Regions from separate parts of the Homo sapiens genome. Here region 2 is linked to region 1. The links are contacts of gene promoters, found by promoter capture Hi-C in blood cells and fetal thymus (Javierre and others, 2016). All regions are on one chromosome and are shown on one strand. Each heading gives the region's core, a stretch centred on a gene start or on the middle of the fragment in contact. The rest is flanking DNA. Distances are from core to core; before and after follow the strand shown.

Region 1 (6,442 bases), core at 3,029-5,528:
CAACACAGAAGCTGTAAAGTCAACAGAATGGGTTTCCTTGTTGTTTCTGGTTTAAGATGAGAAGTCCTGAGCCATTTCTTGAAAAGTGCAGTAGCAGGCCCGGCGCTGTGGCTCATGCCTGTAATCCCAGCACTCTGAGAGGCCGAGAACTCCTCCTGAGGAACTCCTGAGGGCAGGAGTTCAAGACCAGCCTGTCCAACATGGCGAAACCCTGTCTCTACTAAAAATACAAAATTAGCCGGGCATGGTGGTACACGCCTGTTGTCCCAGCTACTGGGGAGGCTGAGGCAGGAGAATTGCCTGAACCCGGGAGGCGGAGGTTGCAGTGAGCCGAGATCGCGCCATTACACTCCAGCCTGGGCGACAGAGCGAGACTCTGTCTCAAATAAATAAATAAAATAAAATAAAAATAAAAGTGCAGGAGCAAAGAGGGTAGTCGGTGGGAGGATGGGCTCCGGAGCGCTGGACCCCAGGCAGCATGTGGGGACAGCAGGGGGCTGCGAATGCAGAGGTGTCTGGTCTTGCTCAGGGTGAGGGACGGAACAGCCCCTGTGAGAACTGGGAGGGAGGGGAGAGCCCCCCATGCCCTCCGGGGTGCCAAGCTGCTCTGGTTCCTGGTGTGGAGAACCAAGTGGTCCTGCGTGGGGCTGAGGAATGGGGAGGACCAGAAGTTCAGGGTGTCGGGGCAGCAGGAAGTTGAAATGGGGGACGCTGCGGGCGGGACGCGGAGGCCGGGCCAGGAGGAAAAGGCCAGAGGGCGGAAGAGGCGGCGGGGGCGCGCGGGGCGCGGCGGAGGGGAGGGCGGTGCGCCCAGTCTCCGCGACCGAGGGGCCAGGTGGCCCCAAGTCCTTCCTGAACCTCTCTGGGTCGCACTCTCCCCAGCCCCTCCCCCCACGCCCCATCGCATGGCCCCGACACTGGCAGAAGGCGGCCGCCCAGCCTGAGCACCTTGTGCAGGTCTGCGGCCAGCGCGCCCACCAGCTCCTGCTCCTGCTCCTGGATCAGGCGCTGCAGCGCCTCCAGCTGCTGGATCCGGAACTGCAGCGGACGGGTCCTGCCCGAGCTGAAGGCGGCGCGGGCGCGCTTCACGGCCTCGCTGATCTTGCTCATGGCGCCTGGGGACAGAGAGCACCTGCAGCTGGCTGAGGGGCACGAGCGCGCCCTGCCTCCCACCCTGCCTGAATTCTATAGGAAGGGACTTCCCTGGGCTCGGCCTTGGGGAAAATGGCCTTTCCGCTGGAAGGTCCACTTTCTGCCTCGCCTCCTCTCCCGCCCCTCACTCAGACGCCTGGGCCCTGGCTGCCTTGCTAGCCCCTGAGAAGGTGACACCCGCCGCAACCCGAGTCCTAAGCCGAACTGCTGCTGGGGGCTCTTGGCAGCGTGCTCGCGGCAGGGCCTTTCCCGGCCTTTTCCGCTCCCTTACTTGCTTGCAAAGCTGATGGCACAATCCCAGACCAACACCCCCAGAGCTCTGCACACGCAGTCAGCCACTCTCCAGATCAGATTGGAGGGGCGCAGTCCGCGATTCCACACCCAAGCCGATAAAGAAAAACCCAGCACCACCCTCCTGGCTAAGCCATTGTTCTAAAAAGCGCTGGTTTCTTGGCAGAGCTGAACCAGGCTTGGTGTGTAAACCACGCGTGCCACACCTGGGAGACGCACGCCCATGCCCGCCAAGGATTCAGAGAGCTGCAGATTTCCACAAAGAGGTGTGGAGGCGATTCCTGCTACCAATACACGAAAGTATAGTGGCAAATCGGGATGGCCCTGCTGGGGGCAATTTGGCAATATGTGGCAAAAGTTTTTCAAACATACTTCTCTGTGACGAAAAGGTCCTACAGCCTTTCCTAAACATTCACGAATAAGAAAGTCATCACTGTTTTCTATAACAGGGAAGTATTGTAAACATCCCAAAGATCCGAAAGAAAGGAGACAGTTTAAATGACTCCTGTCACACCCACGTAAGGGTTTACTGTGCAGTATTTAGGGATTAGGTGGAGCAGGCTATTCAGCATGTTTGTAGGGGCTCTCTCTGCACCAGGGGTGTCTCAGGCACTGGGGATAAGAAAGAAAACAGGTTACAGGCCGGGCGCGGTGGCTCACGCCTATAATCCTAGCAAACACTTTGGGAGGCTGAGGTGGGCGGGTCACCTGAGGTCAGAAGTTCAAAACCAGCCTGGCCAACATGGTGAAACCCTGTCTCTACTAAAAATACAAAAATTATCTGGGAGTGGTGGCAGGCACCTGTAGTCCCAGCTACTTGGGAGGCTGAGGCAGGAGAATTGCTTGAACCAAGCTGAGAGGAGGAGGTTGCAGTGGGCCGAGATTGGGCCATTGCACTCCAGCACTTTGACCGGGAGAATGGAGCCATAATCACAGAGTTCTCCTATTAGATTAGTGGTAGGAGGTAAGGCAAGGTTAGTGAGATTTGCTAGAAGTCAAGAGGCTGTCAGTGGAAGCGGTATTTGAAGGCCTCGGGTAAGTAATATAATTACTTTCAGCGAGACTCCATCTAAAAAAAGAAAAAGAAAGAAAGAAAGAAAGAAAAACAGAAAACAAGTTACAGAACAACAGATGTACCAGGCGTGTGCATGTGTGTGTGTGCGTGTGTGTGTGTGCGTGTGCGTGTGTGTGCATGTGTGTGTGTGCGTGTGTGTGCATGTGCGTGTGTGTGTGCGTGCGTGTGTGTGCATGTGCGTGTGTGTGCGCGCGTGTGCGTGTGTGTGTGGGCGTGCACGCTCTAACATGCAAGAAAGGACTAGAACGGTAGCCCCCGACACGATGAGACAACTGATGGGGGTGGAATTATTGATGATCTGTTTTCCTCTTATGCAATGTTTGACTTTTTGCAATGAGCTTGTATTTTTTAAATTTTGGTGCGTTTTAAGATAGGCACTACATGCTCATGAAACAAAATGTAAAATATAGCAAAGGGGCACAGAAAAAAGTCTGCCTCCCTCCTCCCTGCTCCATCAGCTGTCAGGTGCTGCCCCACAGAGGGGCCACTGTTACCAGTTCCTTACTCCCCTTCCTGAGATACTCAGCCCACTTGCAGACCCGGCATAACTTTTAACATCAGCAGAAATAGGGTATTTCCATTTTTTTAAAAAACCCTATATATCATATGTAATATATAATTATATTGTATATAGATATATGGTCCTGCCTACATTCCAGCGAGTGGCTTCCAATCCTTCCTCTGCCTCCCCTCCCCATAGGCTGACCCCTAATCCCAGGCTTTCTGCACAGGGAGGAGGGACCTGCTGGCATTGAGGGTGCTCTAAGCCTGGCCCTTCCATGGTCCCTCCCTATGTTCTGATAGGAGGCTGGGAAAGCCCCCTCACTGGGACCTCCTCAGTCCCATGGGCCAGGCCCCTCCTGCTGACCACAACCCAGGAGAGAAGGTCCCGCTTCTCTCCCGAGCCTTGTACGGTCAAACCAAGGCAGGCAGCCCAGGTGGGAAGAGCCTGGTGAGCGTGGGACGGGATTGGCCTTGCACCCCAGCATCGCCACTTGGAACTGTGGTCTCTGGGCTGGACGGCCTTCCCAGGACTTCCCCGAGAGACAGGTTAACAAAGGTGCCACTTCACAGAGATGAGTGGACACCATCACGTCGCAGCTGCACCCAAATGGGAGCTGCTGCAGCATGCACTGGGGGCCTCCCCAGAGCCCGTCGCCTCACACCCCACATTCCTGCACCCCGCTCCTCTCACCTGTGCCAGTGTTGACTTTGCCCCCCAGTGACACCTCCTCCCCTCCTCATTGCCTTCCATCCTCACAAAAGCTCTGTAGTGATGCCCATGAAGAAGAAACGGTTATGAGTGCATTTTACAGATGAGGAAAGGGAGACTGAGAAACGTTTAATGCTGTATCTGATCTCACAGTTAGCAGGTGGCATGTCAGGGTTTGAACCCACATGCATCTCTGTCAGCAGCTCATGCCTTTAGCACTCGGCTCTGCTGCCTTCCTTCCAGTCATGGAGTCTGACGGCCCATCAGGGCCTCTCACTCCACGGCCACCTTGGTGTCCCTGCTCCGCGGATCCCTGGGACCTCTGCCTCCTGGTTTGGGGGATGGCAGAGCTGCCAGAGGTCCAGGAGGATGCTCCAGAGATGATGGTCCCAGAGGCAGGGACCCCCTGGAGAGATGATGTAGGACTCTTGACACTTAGGGCCCCGGCTCTGAGTGCAGACTCCACCTAGACAAGAGAAAAAATAAGGAATGCAGGGAAGAGGATTACCTTTGACACAGCCTCTCCCGGTAACTGGGGCTCCTGGAACGGCAAGAGCCAAGAGGGGACGTATTTAAGGACCCTGCTTCCCGTCCATTGAGCCCTTGGAGTTCCTGCCCAGGAAGTTTGCGTGACAAGAAAAAAAAATATTCAAATGTGGGGTGTGGCGTCCTCTGGACCTCTGCTCCCTACAGCCCAGGTTTTGGGGATTAGGTCCCGGGCTGTTTGCTTTTGTTCACTTCTGAAATGCGAGAATGTTTCTGAAGGCTTGGGCAGGGCACATCTCCAATCTTCAAAAGAGCCTATGTTTGCCCTGGGCGTGGGGGCTGCTGATTGATTCAGCCTGGCATGGAGCTCTTCCAGCTTTCCAGACTTGCCGCTGCCAGATGCGGTTCTCTGAGTTCTCTGGTTACATAAGATCGGCAGGGCTCAGCCACGAACCACAGTGAGAGCATGCAGCTCCCCCGAAACGCACCCCCAGCCACCGCTGCCCCGGGCCCTTCACATCCCCCAGTGTGCACAGGGCCCCATTGAGTCAGAGATCCTAACCCTGGGGAGCCACAGGCTGGGGACTTTTGATGGGGGTCTCCAATCCATAAATCTGCTCTCTCGTTGAATAGCTGAGAAGAGGGCCAAGGGTCTGTGTGGTCACCGAAAACCAGAGATGCTTGGGAAGGAAGGAGTCTGGAAAAGCCGTTCCCACGCTGTCTGATCAATGTTCGCTGGGCTCCTGCTCTGCACCACGCTGTGGGGAGGAGGCAGGTGTGGAACAGACTCTCGGCCCCTCTCACCAGGCGCTTCCCGCCACCCTCACCCGCCTGCAGGCAGACTGCTTACCAGCATGGGGTCCCTGCTTCCCATTTCATTCGAGGAAAACACAAGGTTCCGGTCCTGGCCTACGAGTCCTGAGGATGTGCTCTGGCCCTCCTGCTTCTCTCCACCTGGAGCCCCCTTCCCCTACATCCACCCACACGGCTACGCTCCAATGTGCTGTGGAAAATAGCACAATGCTGTCGTCTTCCTCCATTATTTTTTCTCTGGAGCGTTTATATCTTGTTTGCTACCTGTCCCTTAACTCCTGACAGCTAGAATTTGATTTGTTCACTGCTGTAACCTCCATACAGCATTTATAGTAGATGCTCAATAAATATTTATTGACTGACAAAATAAACAGGAAATTTCAAAATAATGTGAACACTGTAGTAACCAGGTAGGCAGAGGATGCTAGAGGGGCTGGGGTGAGAGTCCGTGGGAGGGAACATCATCTGAGCTGAGTGAGAAGCATTTGGGCAAGGAACAGCAAGGGGGCTGGAAGAGCAGAAGCAAAGGCACAGAGGCTGGGAACGTTATGTCACGAAAAAGTGCGATGTGTCCACTGTTGCCAGCAGGAGGTGTGGAGGTGAATGACTCTCCTGGGGCGGGGGCTCACGGAGGCCTGTGGGCCAGGCTGGCTGTGGGGGTGCAGGGCGCTGAGGAGATTATCAGACAGACAAATGTCTGCTATTTTTTGTTTTAGAGAACCCCCTGGACAGGGCACAGTGTGAGAAAGGTCTAGCCCAAAGGCTGCAGCTTCCAGCAATGCAGGCAAGAAATGACGAGACCCCCAAATAAGACTAACAGAATGGGAAACATTCCAGAAACAGCAGAAAGAAGCATCTGCAGGACCTCGCACCTGTGCAGGGGCTGGACTGGGTGGTAGGTGCAAAGTGGGGTGCCTCCTGAGAGGGGAGAAGACCGAGCCTGTGCCAGCCTCTCCCCTTTTCTGGTGGCAGCAGCTGATTATCTTTGCAGGCAACCCCTTCCTACTTGGTGAGATGATCAACCAGGTGCCTTCTCCAGGCCAGCCATGGGTTGGGGTGGGCTCCCCATGAGGCCTCCCTGACTCTCCTGGGAATTTGGATCTTGAGTAGAGGGCAGAATGCAAGGCCGAAGGCCATTCGGAGCTGACTTCTTGTGGCAGCGGCCCTCCCCTGGGAGAACCATGGAAGCAACTAGCAAAAGCCAGCAACACAGCATTGAGTACACGAAGTGACCAGAACAGTGCCTGGCGGGCCGAGGGCATCCTGGAAAGGTTAGGTGGTGTGGGTGTCATCAAAAGTGGCAGCAGTAGTGGTGGAAGCGTCAGAGCAAGGAGCCTAAAAGCAGTTCAAATCTACGAAGAACAAAATCCTTGTTTGCGTGTTTGGGTTTTGGTTATAGTTTCAGTAGTGGC
Region 2 (6,705 bases), core at 3,861-6,360, 230 kb before region 1:
CAAATTCCAATCTGACTCTAGTATAGCATCACATGACAGATAGCAGGCCCCGAAAGAAATCAATGTATTTTATTCCAGAATATATATATATATATATATATATTTTTTTTTTTTTTTTTTTTTTTTTTTTGAGACAGAGTTTCACTCTTATCACCCAGGCTGGAGTGTAATGGTGTGATCTCAGCTCACTGCAACCTCTGCATCCCGGGTTCAAGCAATTCTCCTGCCTCAGCCTCCTGAGTAGCTAGGATTACAGGTGCGTGCCATCATGCCTGGCTAATTTTTGTATCTTTAGTAGAGATGGAGTTTCACCATATTGGCCAGGCTGGTCTTGAACTCCTGACCTCAAGTGATCCACCCGCATAGGCCTCCCAAACTGCTGGGATTACAGGTGTGAGGCACCATGCCCAGCCCCAGAATATATATTTTTTGACATATTTTGAAATGGCCCTGCAAAGCTGTCTCTTGTAGAGGAAATTTGTATCCTGTAGAGAATCCCCCTCCCTTTCCAGGTCTTTTTCCTGGTCCAGGAGAGATTAAGAGTCTGGTACCTTTTCAGGCCTGATAAGAGCTCTAAAGCCCGCTTCCTGGAGGCTTCCTCTGCATGAACAGAAACTTGATCTCCACAACCCCCATTTCCAGACACTCCTTTCTATTGATGCCAGGTTTTTAGATCATAACTTAACTCTTTCAACCAATTGCCAATCAGAAAATCTTGGAATCCACCTATGACCTGGAAGCCTCAATCCACCTCCATCACTCCCAGCTCTCACTCCCCTCTTTGAGTTATCCTGTCTTTCCATACAGAACCAATGTACACCTTAAATATATAGATTGATGTCTGCAAGTTCTCTCCCCCTAAAATGTATAAAATCACACTGTGACCCAACCACCTTGGGCACATATTCTCAGGACCTCATGGGGCTGTGTCACAAGTTGTGATCCTCATATTTGGTTCAGAATAAATCTCTTCCAATATTCTCCAGAATATGGCTCTTTTTGACAGTAGCTCTTCTAGAATTATTAATATTTCCAAGGCTAAGAAACTCATCACTAGATCAGTCAGCAAAAGAAGATTGTGTAAGTTCAGAACTTAGACCAAGAGTGTGTTCCACTGTCACCCAGCTCCAAGACAGGGACCCGTTGATTCTGTGACCTGCATGCTGCGATGGATCATTCAAATGCACAACAGGCTCCTGAGGCCATCACAGGCCGCCTGGCTCTTGTCAGGCCCTCCTGGTGGGGAGATTTTGACCACAGTTAGCAAAGGATAGAGCAAAGGACAGTTTCGCTGTCTAAAAAGCAAAATCTCAGAACACCGGCAGAGGGCGCAAACGGCAAGCCCAGGAATCACAGGGACGTCACTGCGAACATCTTTTTCCTCCAACATAGAACTAATTAACTTTGTGCTTGGGTATTCTCTAAAATAATTTCTGGAAAACCATGTAACCCTTGTACATTTTCTAAGTGGGCATAAAACATTTTCACCATAATTAAAAATAGTTGCGAGGGCTGGCATATCGCAAATAGTAACATTTAAAAATAAAACGATTACATCATTGTTTTAAATATATCCAATGACATATACACAACACAATTTGATACTGTCACCCATTTTTTAAAAATACATGAACAAGTTCTTCCTTAACAGTCAGAATCATTCATCTTTCCTTTTTCTCTTCATATTTCCGTTCCTTCCCCCATCAATTTGTAATATACTTTTATGCTGAAAGTCTTTTATTTACCACTCTACCATGACTCTTGCCACAAAAATACAAATGTAAATTGAAAATTAAAATGTCTCATTTCCTGAGACCTTCAAAGGCTAAGTATTAACAATTTTTCTTTGGGATAGAATTATCACTATTTTAAAAAATATTTTTTGGCTCCCTCAAATCATGGGAACTATAATTAATATCAACACAGCATTGCTACAAACAACACAAATATATTACACATCTTGATAATGTATTATGAGGTTTTGAAGTTGTCAGACTGCCTCTTTGGCACCTGACAAGTGTTTCCACCTTGGAGCAATGTGAGGTACAATGTAGGTGAGAAGGTGTCTTTCTTTAGTGACAAATACACTGAGAAGAGAAAGGAGAAGGCAGTTTTAACCAGAAACTTGGGAATCTGGAACAGTAGTTGCTTTTTTTTTTTCTTTGAGATGGAGTCTCACTCTGTCGCCCAGGCTGGAGTGCAATGGCATGGTGGCATGATCTCGGCTCACTGCAGCCTCTGCCTGCTGGGTTCAAGCAATTCTTCTGCCCCAGCCTCTCGAGTAGCTGGAATTACAGGCACCTGCCATCGTGCGCAGATAATTTTTGTATTTTTGTAGAGACAGGGTTTCACCATGTTGGCCAGGCTGGTCTTGAACTCCTGACCTCAGGTGATCCACCTGCCTCTGCCTCCCAAAGTGCTGGGATTACAGTCATGAGCCTTAAAACTTTCCTTGTCACACACAGTATTCCCTTGTCACATACAGTATTGACTACTCCAGTTTGAAGATGCGGTCAAAACCTGCTATGGAGAGACTGGGAAAGCTGACCGAGCCAGTGGCCCACTGGAGGGACCACAGCAGAGCAGACGGAGCAATAACATTCCAGATGCTGGGGGAGGAGCACACCCCAAGGTCTTTGCATGGCCCCGGAGTGCTGGGCCAGATGTCACTCAGCCAAGTCAACCCAAAGGAAGCCTGGAGACCGAGTCACAGGTAGAATCTGTGCAAAGGGAGGAGTAGACATTTTAAAAAAGAAAAAGAAAAACGCAATTTTCCCAAATAGCTTTGTTACTTTTTGACAAGGAATAACAGAACACCCGTGAGTAGGTAGTTTTTCTGTTTAAAAAAAAAAATTTTTTTTGAGACATAGTTGCGCTCTCTCACCCAGGCTGGAATGCAGTGGCACCATCTTGGCTCACTGCAACCTCTGCCTCTCAGGTTCAAGCGACTCTCCTGCCTTAACCTCCCGAGGAGCTAGGATTACAGGCGCCCACCGCCACGCTAATTTTTGTATTTTTTAGTAGAGACGGAGTTTTGCCATGTTGCCCAGGCTAGTCTCAAATTCCTGACCTCAGGAGATCTGCCTGGCTCGGCCTCTCAAAGTGCTGGGCTTGAGCCACCACTCCCGGCCTGTTTTAAATGTTTTAACTTGGGTTAAAGTGTTTCTATTTTAAGTGTTACATATGTCTATAGTCTATTTAATTGCCTTACTTTGCAATAAGACACTGAAATAATTTATAGCTCTTTAAACTCCACTTTTAGGGGCTGGATACAGTGGCTCACGCCTATAATCCCAATGCCTTAGGAAGGCCAAGGTGGAGGGATCGCTTGAGGCCTGGAGTTCAAGCCTAGCCTGGCCAACATGGCAAGACTGCTACCCCCAACTATTATTATTCTGAGACAGGATATCTCTCTGTTACCGAGGATGGAATGCAGTGGTGCCGTCAGAGCTCACTGGGACCTTGAACTCCTGGGCTCAAGGAATCCTGATGCCTCAGCCTCCTGTCTGTCTGGGGCTACCAGCATGTCCACACCTGACTAATTTTTGTATTTTTTTGTAGCAATGGGGTCTCACTATGTTGGCCAGGCTGGTACGGACTACTGGCTTCAAGTGATCCTCCAGCCTCAGCCTCCCAAAGGGGTGAGATTATGGGTGTGAGCCACCCCACCTGGCCTAGTTATTTTTTAATTAAAATTATTATTTAAATAATATTTATTTTTATTAGTGGCTCCGGAGTGCAATCCCAGAAACTCAGAAGGCTGAGGAGGGAGGATTGCTTGAACCCAGGAGTTCAAGACCAGTCTATCAACATAATGAGACCCAGTCTCTACCAAAAATAAATAAATAAATAATTAGTCGGGAGTCTAAGTTCCAGCTACTTGGGAGACTGAGACGGGAGGATCGCTTGAACCCAAGAGATCGAGTCTACAGTGAGTGATGATCGCACCACTGCACCCCAGCCTGGGTGATAGAGTGAGATCCTGAACCAAAAAAAAAAAAAAAAAAAAAAATAGAGATAGTTTGTACTTGAATGCAACTTAAGTCCCCTACTTGTTGAAGACCGCCCATGATTGTCTGGTCTTAGACATTTTGAAATGGGATGAAATGTATGTGCCTTAGCAGAAAGAACAAGCTTTAAAGTTAGACATATTTACATTTAAATCCTGGTTTGACCAGTTGCTTTTACATAAGCCTTAGTTTTCTCACCTATGAAGAAATAAGAATAAGAGATAATAATGCCCATTGTGATTTTTTTTTTCTTTTTGGTGAGAATCAAATGAGAATGTGTTATAGGGCCTGGCAGTTAGGTGTTCAAAACTGGGGGTTATTCTTGTGGTGATGCTGAACAGGGCTGTCTTTATACTTCCATTGCTCTGAGGGCCAGGACTTCTGGGGCCAGCTCTTGCCCTAAATTCCTGTGTGACCTTGGGCAAGTCCCATTTTCCTCTGAGGCCCAGTGACCCCATGTGTCCAATGCAAGCTGGAGAGGCCTCCAGCTTTGACACTCTCGTGATAACTCTCTACAGCCTTGCTGCTTAGAAGGTGGGCCTCAGACCCGCAGCAGAGGAGGCCTGGGAGTAGCTGCAGACTCTCAGACCCCACCCAGACCTACCCCAGACTCTGAATCAGCACCTGAACAAGGTTTCCAGGTGATTCTCATGCACGTTGCGGCCGAAAAGATTCTGCCCAACTGTTCCGAATTAAACTGATTTGAAGTACCTTAGTTGACGAACCAAACCACCAGAATGATTGGGAATTTAGACATTTTGTTGACTCTAGGAATTAGGCATATCCTGACAGTTTAGAGACATTACTTTTCATTTCTGACTCCTCACATCTGAAAATATGGAATTTATTCATTCTGAATGTTTTATTTCTGGGGACAGCAGGTGCTCCCAGTGCATTTGCTGAATGAGTGATGAGCTGTGTATGGAGTTGGATATTCCTGTCTTTTGATTATCTGTTGTTAAATGATGACCTTTTGTTCCCACTCTGTTTCTGGAATCAGGCAGAAGTAATTTCCAGTCCCCTATCTGCCACTGATTAGCCATTCAGCTCCAGGCAAGTTACTTAAACCATTTGAACTGCAATTCACCCATCTGAAGAAAGCAAGTAATAACCCCCTCTAGGATCCTTGTCAGGATTATGAGGTAATGGCTGAAAACACTCAGCCCAGCCCTAGAATATGGCAGCTGTTAATGATATTACAAGAAGGAAATGTCATTACATCAAATAGTAGGTAATGGACAATGGTATTACATTATTATAGTTGTCATTGTTATTAATATCTTGGGGACAGATTCAAATGGAGCTATAGGACAAAAAGTGCTTCTGGGCATTCTCCCTCAGTGATCAGATGACACCCAGGTTCCTGGAAGATGGTTCCCTCCAAGGTCTTTGATATTACTTCTGGTCTGGTGTCACACTTGGTCCACAGTGGCCCCTCACAGGCATGACCAAGCAAACACTCTTCTCCAAAGATGGCTTACAATCTGAGAGTCCTTGTACTTCTTACAAACATAGTCCCTCAGATGACTCCAAGTGGCCTTTGTAGTTGCACAGAGCTTTCTGGACTGGAAAGATGGCGGACAGGATGTTCTCCTACTTTTTATTTTATTGATTGATTGATTGATTGATTGAGATGGAGTTTCGCTCTTGTTGCCCAGGCTAGAGTGCAATGGTGTGATCTCGGCTCACCGCAACCTCCTCCTCCCGGGTTCAAGTGATTATCCTGCCTCAGCCTCCCGAGTAGCTGGGATTACAGGCATGTGCCACTATGCCCAGCTAATTTTGTATTTTTAGTAGAGATGGGGTTTCTTCATGTTGGTCAGGCTGGTCTCGAACTCCCTACTGTCTCATGCATCCATGTGACGAGACCACCAAACAGGCTTTGTGTGAGCAACAAGACTGTTTACTTCACCTGGGTGCAGGAGGGCTGAGTCCGAAAAGAGAGTCAGCAAAGGGCGGTGGGATTATCATTAGTTCTTATAAGTTTTGGGATAGGCGGTAGAGTTAGGAGCAATGTTTCGTGGGCAGGAGGTGGATCTCACAAAGTACATTCTCAAGGGTGGGGAGAATTATAAAGAAGCTTCTTAAGAGTGGGGGAGATTACAAAGTACATTGATCAGTTAGGGTGGGGCAGAAACAAATCACAATGGTGGAATGTCATCAGTTAAGGCTATTTTCACTTCTTTTGTGGCTCTTCAGTTGCTTCAGGCCATCTGGATGTATACACGCAGGGCACAGGGGTTATGATGGCTTAGCTTAGGCTCAGAGGCCTGACACCTACGTCAGGTGATCTGCCACCTCGGCCTCCCAAAGTGCTGGGATTACAGGCTGAGCCACCATGCTTGGCCCTTATTTATTTATTTATTGAGACAGGGTCTCACTCTGTTGCCCAGGCTGGATTGCAGTGGCACAATCATGGCTTGTTGCTGCCTTGACCTCCCGAGCTCAAGCAATCCTCCTACCTCAGCCTCCTGAGTAGCTGGGACTAGAGGCTCATGACACCATGCCTGGCTAATTCTTAAATTTTTTTGTAGAGATGAGGTCTTACTATGTTGCCCAGGCTGGTCTCCAACTCCAGGGCTCAGCCTCCCATCCCATGATGCTGCCTGTTTCTTGAGTCCAGGGGTCATGTTTGATGGGGAACAGAATGACTTCAGCTAAGTCATCTCTGTCAAGACCTGGAGTATTTTATTTT

What was found. Contacts are between HindIII fragments. The CHiCAGO score rates a contact against its expected background, and 5 or more counts as called.
Region 2: a fragment that was not itself captured here is called in contact with the fragment with the promoter of ALDH3A1 in region 1 in 11 of 17 cell types (naive B cells, naive CD8 T cells, endothelial precursors and 8 more); the score reaches 8.6 in naive B cells.

Annotation. Positions count from the first base shown.
Region 1 is chr17:19,744,020-19,750,461 of GRCh38, forward strand. It overlaps ALDH3A1 (aldehyde dehydrogenase 3 family member A1), which reads right to left and starts at 4,279. Exons shown (of 11, transcript NM_000691.5): 1 at 4,240-4,279; 2 at 949-1,115. The coding sequence starts at 1,110. RefSeq lists a silencer at 869-928 and enhancers at 988-1,955, 6,236-6,442. The HindIII fragment of the contact is 17,326 bases long and covers 1-6,442 here.
Region 2 is chr17:19,512,758-19,519,462 of GRCh38, forward strand. No RefSeq gene overlaps it. Among named protein-coding and RNA genes, the nearest start is that of TRW-CCA2-1, 7.9 kb to the left of the region's middle. RefSeq lists an enhancer at 6,069-6,705. The HindIII fragment of the contact is 1,956 bases long and covers 4,133-6,088 here.